2 separate regions of the Homo sapiens genome follow, and region 1 is linked to region 2. Evidence: promoter capture Hi-C in 16 types of primary human blood cells and fetal thymus (Javierre and others, 2016). All regions are on one chromosome and are shown on one strand. The core of a region is centred on a gene start or on the middle of the fragment in contact, and the rest is flanking DNA. Distances in the headings are between cores, read along the strand shown. Region 1 has its middle 24 kb from the start of TNFAIP8. Region 2 holds the start of TICAM2 (TIR domain containing adaptor molecule 2).

Region 1 (5,051 bases), core at 2,262-4,761, 3.7 Mb after region 2:
CTACCTGGCCTTGTGAGGTCTTTTGCCTTTCTGTTAAATAGAAAGGTGTTCTTCCTATTTTCCACACAGTTTGCTTTTTGTGCTTTCTGTCTGGTGAATCATGGATGCTTTTGCGATATGATATGAAGAGAAAAAAGCCAGCAGATGTAGGCTCATATCCCAGCATTCTGCTGAACAGATATGTTAACTTTATGGAGCTGGGTTTCCACACCTGTAATCCGAGGATAATGACGCCCACCTCCCAGGGTTTTGGCGAGGAGTGAGTGGACCACAGTGAGAGCACCATGCACACTGTGGACATCTCCAGGTGCTTAGCAGCAGGATTTCCCCAGCCTTGTCTAGACATGGACCATGCAAGTCCATGTCCAGACAAGGTTTGGGGAAATCCTGTGCTGTGCAAGGCCTCCTTTATGTGAGAAGTGAGTCTGACCATCCGCCGTCTCTGTTAGGCCATCTGGAAAACGCTTCTGAGCATATTGTTTATCTCAGTCCCTGAGTCTCCTGGAATAATTCCTTCTCAGCCTGCCTTCCTCCCTGCTTCACCAATGACTCTTTCCTCTTTGAAGAAGAGGAGAGAGACAAAGAGGAGTAAGTTGAATAGAGGAGGGGGAAGCTATAATTAGCGCCATGGTTTAGGCACGCCATTGAAAGAGTTAGCATGGGCAGGATTCAGCATACGAGGAGGGTACAGAGAGGACTGATGGGAAGAGAGGAAGGTTGAACAGAAAGAAAATGAAATTAATCTTGGCAGCCATGGCATTAAGCACTAGGGATTAGGGAACGTCCTGGGAATGCCAAAGCATAAAGGCCAAGGTGTTTTGTAGACATTTCCAGTTCTGTCTGAGGCTGTAGAATTAGATGAAATAAACAAATGAAAGTATCTTTTTATGCAGACACAAATGTCATCACTCTTTTGATGATTTTGTTGAATGTGCTTCTGATAAGGATGTGGGTAGCTATAAAGGAAATATTTTTCTTGGGGTATGTGATAAGCAGTTGATGAAACTAGGCCAGCGAGAGCATGTGTGTCTAGAGATTGTTCTGGGAGGGTAGGGGTTAGGCCTCATGGCCTCTCCTCTCAGCCCTGTCCTATTGTGCAGGGTCCTGCTGAATATGCTGCTTAACCTCTCTGCTCTGACACTCGCTTTGGAAACTGGGATTGCCACCCACTTTCGCAGGGTGTGGGGAGAGTGAAATGATGTAAGTGATAGTCTCTTGCTCTGAGATGCCGAGATAACGTGGAGTACACACACACGGAAGGGAAGGATCTCATTTTCTCATGGCCACCATCATGTGTTTGCAGAGAGATAGAGAAGAAGTACCAGATAAGGTGGCCGCAGACTTCCCTAATGACAGCTTATTTGGTATTACTGTGACACTCCAGGCTACCTCCATGACTGCCAATGCCAGTTGCACTCTCAGGGGCTGGGGGTTAGGGGTTAGGGTACAGATTAGCCCTGCGCTTCTGCTGCAGAGTTGTGCCCACCAAGAAAAAGGCCAAGAGCCAACTATATTCCTGAGCACAAATTGCTTTCACGAAGCTAGGCCTGGACAGATTCTTCAGCCACTAGGCCACCAGGCAGGGCTCCTAGGGCTGGAAGTCCTGGCTGCCTCCACTCTCCTCCTTGCCTTGAAGCATGGGTGATGCATCCACATTGGGCAATCATCACAATGTTGATCCCTGAACCTACCTAGAGTGTCTTAATTCACAAGTCCTAGGGAAGCATGGAAGTGCTGTGCATAGTCATATCTACAAAGAGATATTAGCTTTTTTTTTTTTTTTTAAACATAAGGCTATTCTGTAAGGTTTGACTGCTTCACAAATACTTACTTGAGAATCTCCCTGCTCTCTAGCCTATGTCTGTGATGACTCTTCTTTGTTCCCAAATCAAGTAGGATAAGCAGGATGCTAACTGCTGGGACTGGTTTAAACAGCACACTTTGAATAGATCCGGGGATATCTTGGGCATTCTAGTCTCAAGTGAGAGAAAAGGAGTGTCTTAGGGAAATGTCTGTGCAGATGCTTTGCTTTTTGTTCTCCTGTTTTTGGAGAGCTCTCTCCAAAACCAGGAGTTTCCTGCTGGGTGTAGAGGTGCCCACTGGATACATGAGGCTACCATGTCCTCTGCCCTTGCCTGGTGTTGGGACCTTGCTGGTGCCTCCCCGACTGGGCCTGGAGCATGTGTAAGGGCCCTGATGCCATGAAGGCAGTTGTTTTCACATAGGACTGCAGGATTCTTCCTCCAGCCTTGTCTTCCTGCAGCCTCACTGCACTGCCCCATCCTCCCCTAGCAGAACTGGAAAGAGTGGTTCCTAGTGACCACCTAGCCATGCAGCCACCACTGAGGTCACATTTTAGGGAAATGTGAGAGGCCTGTTCCACTGTTTAGATGCAGTATTTCTGCTCTTTGTAGCTTACCCTTGGAATTGCCAGTGAGTCACAGCCTGCGAAGTCCTTGTGATTTAGGGTCCTGCACTTCCAGGAAGAGCTTTCTCTTGACATCTTCTTTGACCCTTAGTCCCTGATGTTTTCATGGCATGAAGGGCCAGTCAGAATTTGGGGAGATAACACAAAAGAACACAAAAATATGGTTTCTAAGGTATAAGTGTCATATCGCTATGAGTTAGTCACATGATAATGTAGGCCAAAGAAAATAAGAAATACAGAGATATGTTTGTAAATTGATGTTGATTTGGTATCTCTTTTGGCCTCCTTCCCAAATTAGTATTGGGCATTTGATTTTAATTTAGGTCAATAATAATGCTCATTACTGCTTGAGAACTCTATGTGCATCAGGCAATATGTTATTTGCTTCACGTGGTTCTCGTTAAATCTTAATAGCAATTCTGTGACATTGATGATGTTATTCTCATCTTACGGAAGTGCAAAATTATTCAGGGGTGTTAAATAACTTGCACGTATACACAACCAGAAGGTGGCATAAATAGACTCTGAACCAGACCTTGGAGAGTTTGTCCATCACCTTCCACTTTTTTTGCTAGGTGCTTGGTAGTTTCAAGGTAGAGTGTTATTGCTACAGAGTATAGAAATAAAATCAAGAAGCTTACCATGTAGGGAGAGTAAGATAGATAAACAACTGAAGATAATATAAGGACAGCTGTGATAGATACCAAAAAGTGTTACCAAGAAAGGTCAACCAAGGTGCAGTAGGGGCTAAAGGAAGAGATTGAGATCATACATACCTAATAGGGATCACCAAAGAAAAGCCTTCTTAGAAGTGGTACACTTGAATCTTACTTGGGGGAGTGGATAAGGAAAGATTTGTGGGTGGCAATGACTGCCAAATGCCCACGTAAATAAACAGGCTCCTAAAGAAACTATTAGATTGTATAAATGCATGTATGTGTATGTGTACATGTGTGTATTGTGTATGCCTGGATACACTCACACTTACATTCATTATGAAAACCTTATATACTCTTCCAAAGCAAAAGGCTGATGATTTTAAGTAGCAACATTGTCCAAACTCTATTCTTAGTTCTCCTGAGAACAGAAACACCTCTGAGCAATACGTATTATTAATAGACGTTCATGTTTATACAGGTAGGAATGAGGTGTTTTTTTTATTTTCTTTTTTTCAGGCATCTGTGAATGGGGCCTCTCCCTTTTTTTTAGTTTTTTTTTTTTTCTAAGTATCTGTTTCTATTTTCTAGCATGTTGAAACGTTAGACTTCCTGTTTCTGCTTGATTTTGAATATACTCCTGTTTGCTTGTCACAGGTAATCTTGCATTTCTATGTAGTTGTAGTTTACAGGGAGCAAGTGCAGGCAGCAACCAGTCCATCCCTGTTGTGAATGTGGAGACCTCTCTGGACTCACAATTAAAGGCTACCTAATGCATTCCACTACAAGTGACGAAACCTAGCTCCCAGAATAACAAGCAAGACAACTTTCAAAGTGACTGTAGTTGACCAGTGCCTTCTGTGCATTTATGTGGTAAGCTTATGGTAGATTTTTCAAAAGAATAGTATAAATTATTTTGAATTATTCTTGAGAAGGACTGAGTCTCCCCGAGGGTGATGCAGGTTCCATAGTGTACACGTCAACAGGGTGGTTGCATGCATTCCTCAAGTCTGTATGACTCTACCAAGATACTGTGAAGTTGTCCTTCTGATTGCACACGGGGAGAAAATGCTGAAACTAGGTGAGTTAAAACGGCCTTCAGAATATGTTTAGATATAATGTCTTTGTTGAAATCTGGTAAAATGTTCAGATGACTAACATAGTATTGCTGTCTTCAAGGAAATAATGTTTGGTCGTGGCTTTAGAGCTACTGTGTTCAACAAATCACTGTTTTGTTTTGTTTTGCTATGGCTCTGGGTGTGGGGAACCAGTGTTAAGCAGGGAGAGGTATGAGTATTGTGGGTGGAAAAATGACATTTAAAGTTTGCATGTAGACAGTTTCATTTGTAAACAGATAAAGATTTGAAATGTTTCAGAGATGGGACTCTGAAAAGATTGGATGGCTTTTTCACTCAGAGTTTCTCTTTTACATTTTCCATGCGTTTATTAACTGTAGGACACCTCTGGTTCCCAGTGGTCTGGTAGCAGTGGTAACACCGTGGGGCAACCCGTAAACACAAGGCTGTTTATTTCTATTCTCTTATTGGATAATTGTTTGAATATTGCTGTTGCCATTTTCTCTAACAACCAAAAAAAAAAAAAAACGGTTTACCTTACATATAAAGCATTTTGTACTTTTAAAATAACACCTTAGGTTTGTTTTTAGCCATACTTAATGCTCCCACAAGTAGACTTAATTTTATTTTTAAAGTAAATTGAAAAAGTTATCAAGGATTAGAATAGAGTGTTTTAAATAGCCCTTAAAGTTATATTGGTATTTATACACTTTTGTTCAAGTTGATATATAATATTTGCTTAGGTTTACTTAAAATTGTTCTGCTCAACAGATTTTTTGGAGCTTAAATTTAATACTAGGGAAAAACTAGAATTTGGAAGACATAGGTGGGTGTTGGTATAGCTAATCTTTTGGTCCATTATTGAACCCTTGGCAGCCAATAAATATTATT
Region 2 (5,108 bases), core at 182-2,681:
AAATGTAGGTGTCAATATTCTATACCTGCTTATCTATTTTCTGATTTGAATGAGATATAAAGTGGAGTTGCTTAACTCCATTTATAACCATCCTACTACTTCAAAATATTAAAATGTAAGGATTGATGGGCTGATAGGTGCAGCAAACCACCATGGCACACGTTTATCTATGTAACAAACCTGCAAGTCCTGCACATGTATCCCAGAACATAAAATTAAATTAAACAATAAAAAAATAGAAATACAGATTCTGGAAATCAAGCTTACCAAATTAAACCTTCAGAGGTGGGGGGATGCATTTTAAACAAAAGTCCCAAATGCGTCTTACCATCAGGCTTGTTTGAAAAACACTAATCTAAGGAATACTAAACACTTGGAGAAGGACAAGTTCTTCTCCTGTGTAGACGTGCAATGTGGGTTCAGGGGATGACACTTCAACTCTATATAATGGTGTATTTTTACCTCCAGATCATATAGCCTTTCCCACCCTTGCTTTTCAAAATTAAAAGGATAAATTAAAAAATAATAATAAATATGAGAATATTTTAAAATACTTTCTTTAAGAAGTTTACTACCGTGGAAAGCTGGAGAGGTCCTAATACACTGAAAACTAGCTCACAGCTGCCAGTCAAATTATTTTTATCCAAATTAGCTTTGCACAAAAAGCCAAGTAGGAAAACCCATGCCAAAACCTCCAGCACTGGCTCTGTGTGCCTGGCAGGGGCTCATGCAGAGCCTTTAGAGCATTTAAGACTCTGGGCTATTTGCTTATGGTTCTGAGGTGTCTTTTCGAAAATGGGTTTTCTAGTCAAAATGAAACAAAAAGGCAGACAGCTGTGTGGATTTTCCCTTCAGAGTAAGCCAAGTGACGGAAAGGCCTGCCCGCCCCGCTGGGGACAACAGCGCCAGCACCCGCGCCGTCGGGTCGGGTAGGCTGGGGAGGTAGCGCAGGCGGCCTGGCCCCCAGACCACCCCGCGCCCCTGGCGGCCTGGCCCCAGCCCACCCCGCGCCCCCGGCGGCGGCCCCCGCCCTAGCGCCCGGTACTTGCCTGCAGGCGAGCGCCACCACAGTCAGCCCGCGGCTTTTCTGTCTTCCTTTCTGGCCCAGCGAGAGCGCCCAGGGGGTGGGCGTCTTGCCCCGGGCGTCGAGAGTTTGGGGCCGTCCCGTACGCGGCGCGCCGCAACCCAGTCCCCGCGACCACAGCAGCCTGCTCCCCACCGCGCTTGCAGAGCCCGGACGCGCGTGAGTCGGGGGCCCGCAGAGGCCTCACCCTTGGAGGTCGCCGCTTGTCAGGCCTGACTGCTGTTGGCGCCCACCCCGCCGCCCCCGAGGGGCCGCTCGAGGCCGGACTGCTGCTTTGCCGTGGCAGGCCCCACCCGGGACGTGGCGCTGCGGGCCGGGGCGGTCCAGCTGTGAGTCAGGGGTTAATGTGGCGGGATAACTCTCTGCAGAGGGAAGGAGCTCGCAAAGAAGGGTGGAGGAGGGGAAACCGCAATGGGGAACTGTCACCGAGGCTAGTGGACTCTCCCTGCGCTTTTTTTTTTTTTTTTTTTTTTGGCATGTACCCCAAAAGCCAGAGGTCGAGGCCCAGAAAAATCTGGAAAGGAATTCCACCGTGTTTGCTCCTTACAGACCAGACAAACCGTAGATCTTTCAGAGGTACAGCGACTCTCCTGGTTCCCTAAGATAGTCTCGACTTTTCCTTTCCCTTTGCGGCCCTCTCACTTGACTACTGCAGCCAACCATACCCCTGATTAGGGGGTGCAGCACATCAGCCTCTGCCCCCAAAAACTACCCTGCGAAAGATCCTTTTTCTCAGGTTCGTTCTCCACAACCGAACAGATTGGAACTCCACTGAATAAGAGAGAACAAAAAAGCAATTAGTTAAATGAAGCGTAAAGAAGCCTTATAAAGCCCCATTGCTGCCTCAGGCACCCAATCTAGTCATAACCTAAGAGGTCCAGTTCAGAAATCTCCCCTCCCCTTTTAATTCTCAGGCAATCCCTACTCCCTGCCAAAGGAGAACCCAGTTACTGAACATCGGATGAGACCATGGATAGTAAATTGGGAGTGAAGGTCCATACCTGGGTCTCAGAAGCACAGTACAGGTAAAGCTAAGAGTTATTTCCTCCTTCTCTTTCCCCATCCAACAACAGGATGCCTTACTGAAGGTAGGCACTTCAGGTAGTAATTACTTAGTGAAATGCCGCCAATGTAGTCAGAAATACCGTATTATGTACCGTGTCAACACAATTCATTATTCACGGAGTTGATTCTCCAACCACTGCACCTCCCAACAATTCTACCTGAACTCTTTGGGTAAGCAGTGGCCTCCTAAATCCAACTGATACTTTTGTTGCCCTCATTTTTCCTGGGAGTCTCTTTGGCGATTGACAAAGTCGACCATTGTTTCCCAACACTCTGTTTCCTTGATGTTGACAACCCCACTTTGCCTTTATGCTCATCCTGCTTGTTAAAATTCTTTCAGGCCTGTTGGGAGGCCGAGGCGGGTGAATCACGAGGTCAGGAGATCGAGACCATCCTGGCTAACACGGTGAAACCCCGTCTCTACTAAAAAATACAAAAAATTAGCCGGGAGTGGTGGCAGCTGCCTGTAGTCCCAGCTACTTGGGAGGGTGAGGCAGGAGAATGGCTTGAACCCGGGAGGCGGAGCTTGCAGTGAGCCGAGATCGCGCCACTGCACTCCAGCCTGGGCCACAGAGTGAGACTCCGTCTCAAAAAAAAAAAAAAAAAAAAAAAATTCTTCTTTCAGTTTCCTCTGCCTGTTCCTCTTTCTCTGGCAACCCTTCAAAATCAGAGCTTTTCACATTTTCCCACTGAAATACCACCAATGACAGATTCCATAAACACGTACTTCCCTATTCATCACTTAGGTTGCATACATAAAAGAGCCTGAAGTCACTAGTGTCATGGGCAAATTTACTTGAACTGTTCCATCTTCTTGTAAATTGCTCCAAATTTTGCATTGTTCTTCATAATACAGTCACATGTACTAAAAAAAATCTTAAATTGGTTACAAGTTTAATTGCTTAACATTTTCTCTCCAAATGTTCAAGAAAATGCATCAATCACTTACGCCACATATGTTTAGAATATATTCTATGTGCTAGACATTAGGGATATTGTGCGAACAGGAGACACAGTCCTAGTTCTCATGGAGATTTTATAGTCTAATCTGGGAGACAGACAGATATGTAAAGAAGTGAGACAATTTCAGATCCGTGCATTGCTAATGGGGACAGCGAATCTTCCTAGTGGGCAATTTCTAGCTACATACCTGGTTATTCACATTCAAGAAAGGAGGGGACGACATGACAAACTGATAAATATACTGACTTACAGGCAGTGTCTAATGGATTGTCCAGCTTTTAGGTTCTTGGAAAGAACAAAATGGAAAATTTGTAAAAGATCTGTCCGTGAGACTTACAGATAACCCTCTTGGAGTGGTGAGGGCATGTGAAGATATTCATATCCCCCATAAGTGCCTAACAGGATGCATCAGGTGGAGAAGATTTTCAATAATAAGCGGAACAAGATGAATTGTCTGGTAGATGTCAGTCTTTTTCTCCAGCCAACCCAGGGCTTGGTTAATGGGCCCATGTACCAAGTGGCTATCAAAGCAGTGACAGAGGTTCAATAGTATGGTCTTCTCCTTACCTACATTATTTGGCTACTATCATTGCCGAATGCCCAACCTGGCAACAACGTGGAGTGTGACTACATTTCCAAGGCTGGGTTCCTAATATGGCATTACTGTCAATGAGACTTGCTGGCAACCCGGTAACATGATGGTTACATTGGGCAATTTCCATAAGAAATAGGTAGCACTTTGTCTTCACAAAGATAATTCACATTCAAGGTATAAATCTGCATTCTCTGCCTGCAGTGTTTCCACTGGCACTAATATTCTTGACATTTCTGAAGGTTTTATCCATTGCATAGGAATCCCAAAAACATTTCTTCCAACCAGGTACACAGTTTATGGCAATGGAAGTGAATTCAATGGTTTTAACACATGCTTATCTCCTAAAGTAACTAGCTTGATAGAACAGCTGAGTGGCAAAATGAGAGCTCGGTTACAGAGATATCTGGGAGGCAACATCATGAAAAGGTAGGGTGGTGTCCTATAGAATGTGGTACATTAATTTAATAAGCAGTCAATATATGGAGCTGTCTCCCCACTATCAGGATGCACAGGTCTCAGAGCCAAAGGGTAGAAGGAGTGTTTCTGTTCAATAGTATACCTAAGAATCTACGTGAATAATTTTTGCTTCCCATTCCCAAAATGTTGGGCTTGGTGGGTTTAGAAATTCTAGAGTCCAAGAGTAGAACACTTCCTTCAGGAAAAATAATCATGTTTTGATGATTTAGGAGCCGAGACTGGCCCTGGCCTTTTGAGGTTCCTCATGCCATTAAAGTAACAGAAAAGCAGCTCAATGGACTGGCCAGGGTAGCTAATTCCAGTTATCAGAGGAAAACTGTGTTTCTGTTTTACAATGGAAACAAGAAGGCTATATAGGCTATATATGGAAACGAGGAAATTCACTGGAATGCCTCTTAGTGCTAACAGTCCTAGTCAGTGGAAAACTGCAGCAACCCAGTAAAGACAGGCCTATCAACGGCTCAATTCTGTAGAAATGAAGGTTTAGGTCACTTCATTAGACAAAGAATCCCATCTAGTCAAAATCCTGGAGGAAGGTAAGAAGAAGGATTACTAAGCTTGATTATGGTACTTTATTCCCCCAGAAATAAAACCAAAAGATGGTTTACTAGGACGTTCAAAATCAATAAACTTCTAGCCAGATAAGTCAAGAAAAAAGAGAGCAGATGCAAATTACCAATATTAGAAATGAGAGAGGGACATGACATTCCAGTTATTAAAAGGTTACTAAGGAAAGATTATGAACAACTTTATGCCAGCAAATTCAACAATTTATATGAAATGGAAAAAATCCTTAAAAGCCAAACAGTCAAGATGAAACAGATTATTTTAAAAGCCCTAAATCTATCAAAGAAATTAAGGTGTAGTGAAAAATGTTCCGAAAAAGAAAACTTCATGTCCAGGTGACTTCAATGGTGAACTCTA

Evidence for each region. The method cuts DNA at HindIII sites, captures the fragments that hold promoters and counts their contacts. A CHiCAGO score of 5 or more calls a contact.
Region 1: a fragment that was not itself captured here is called in contact with the fragment with the promoter of TICAM2 in region 2 in 1 of 17 cell types (M2 macrophages); the score reaches 5.3 in M2 macrophages.

Annotation. Positions count from the first base shown.
Region 1 is chr5:119,329,467-119,334,517 of GRCh38, forward strand. It overlaps a transcript of TNFAIP8 not described here. Among named protein-coding and RNA genes, the nearest start is that of TNFAIP8, 24 kb to the right of the region's middle. RefSeq lists enhancers at 1-117, 3,274-3,323, 3,934-3,983. The HindIII fragment of the contact is 898 bases long and covers 3,063-3,960 here.
Region 2 is chr5:115,601,048-115,606,155 of GRCh38, forward strand. TICAM2 (TIR domain containing adaptor molecule 2) reads right to left here and starts at 1,432. Exons shown (of 2, transcript NM_021649.7): 1 at 1,050-1,432. The region is part of intron 3 of TMED7-TICAM2 (TMED7-TICAM2 readthrough); the gene reads right to left. It overlaps TICAM2-AS1 (TICAM2 antisense RNA 1), which reads left to right and starts at 1,108. Exons shown (of 3, transcript NR_109875.1): 1 at 1,108-1,413; 2 at 1,999-2,109. RefSeq lists enhancers at 754-833, 782-1,304 and a silencer at 924-1,423. The HindIII fragment of the contact is 4,479 bases long and covers 261-4,739 here.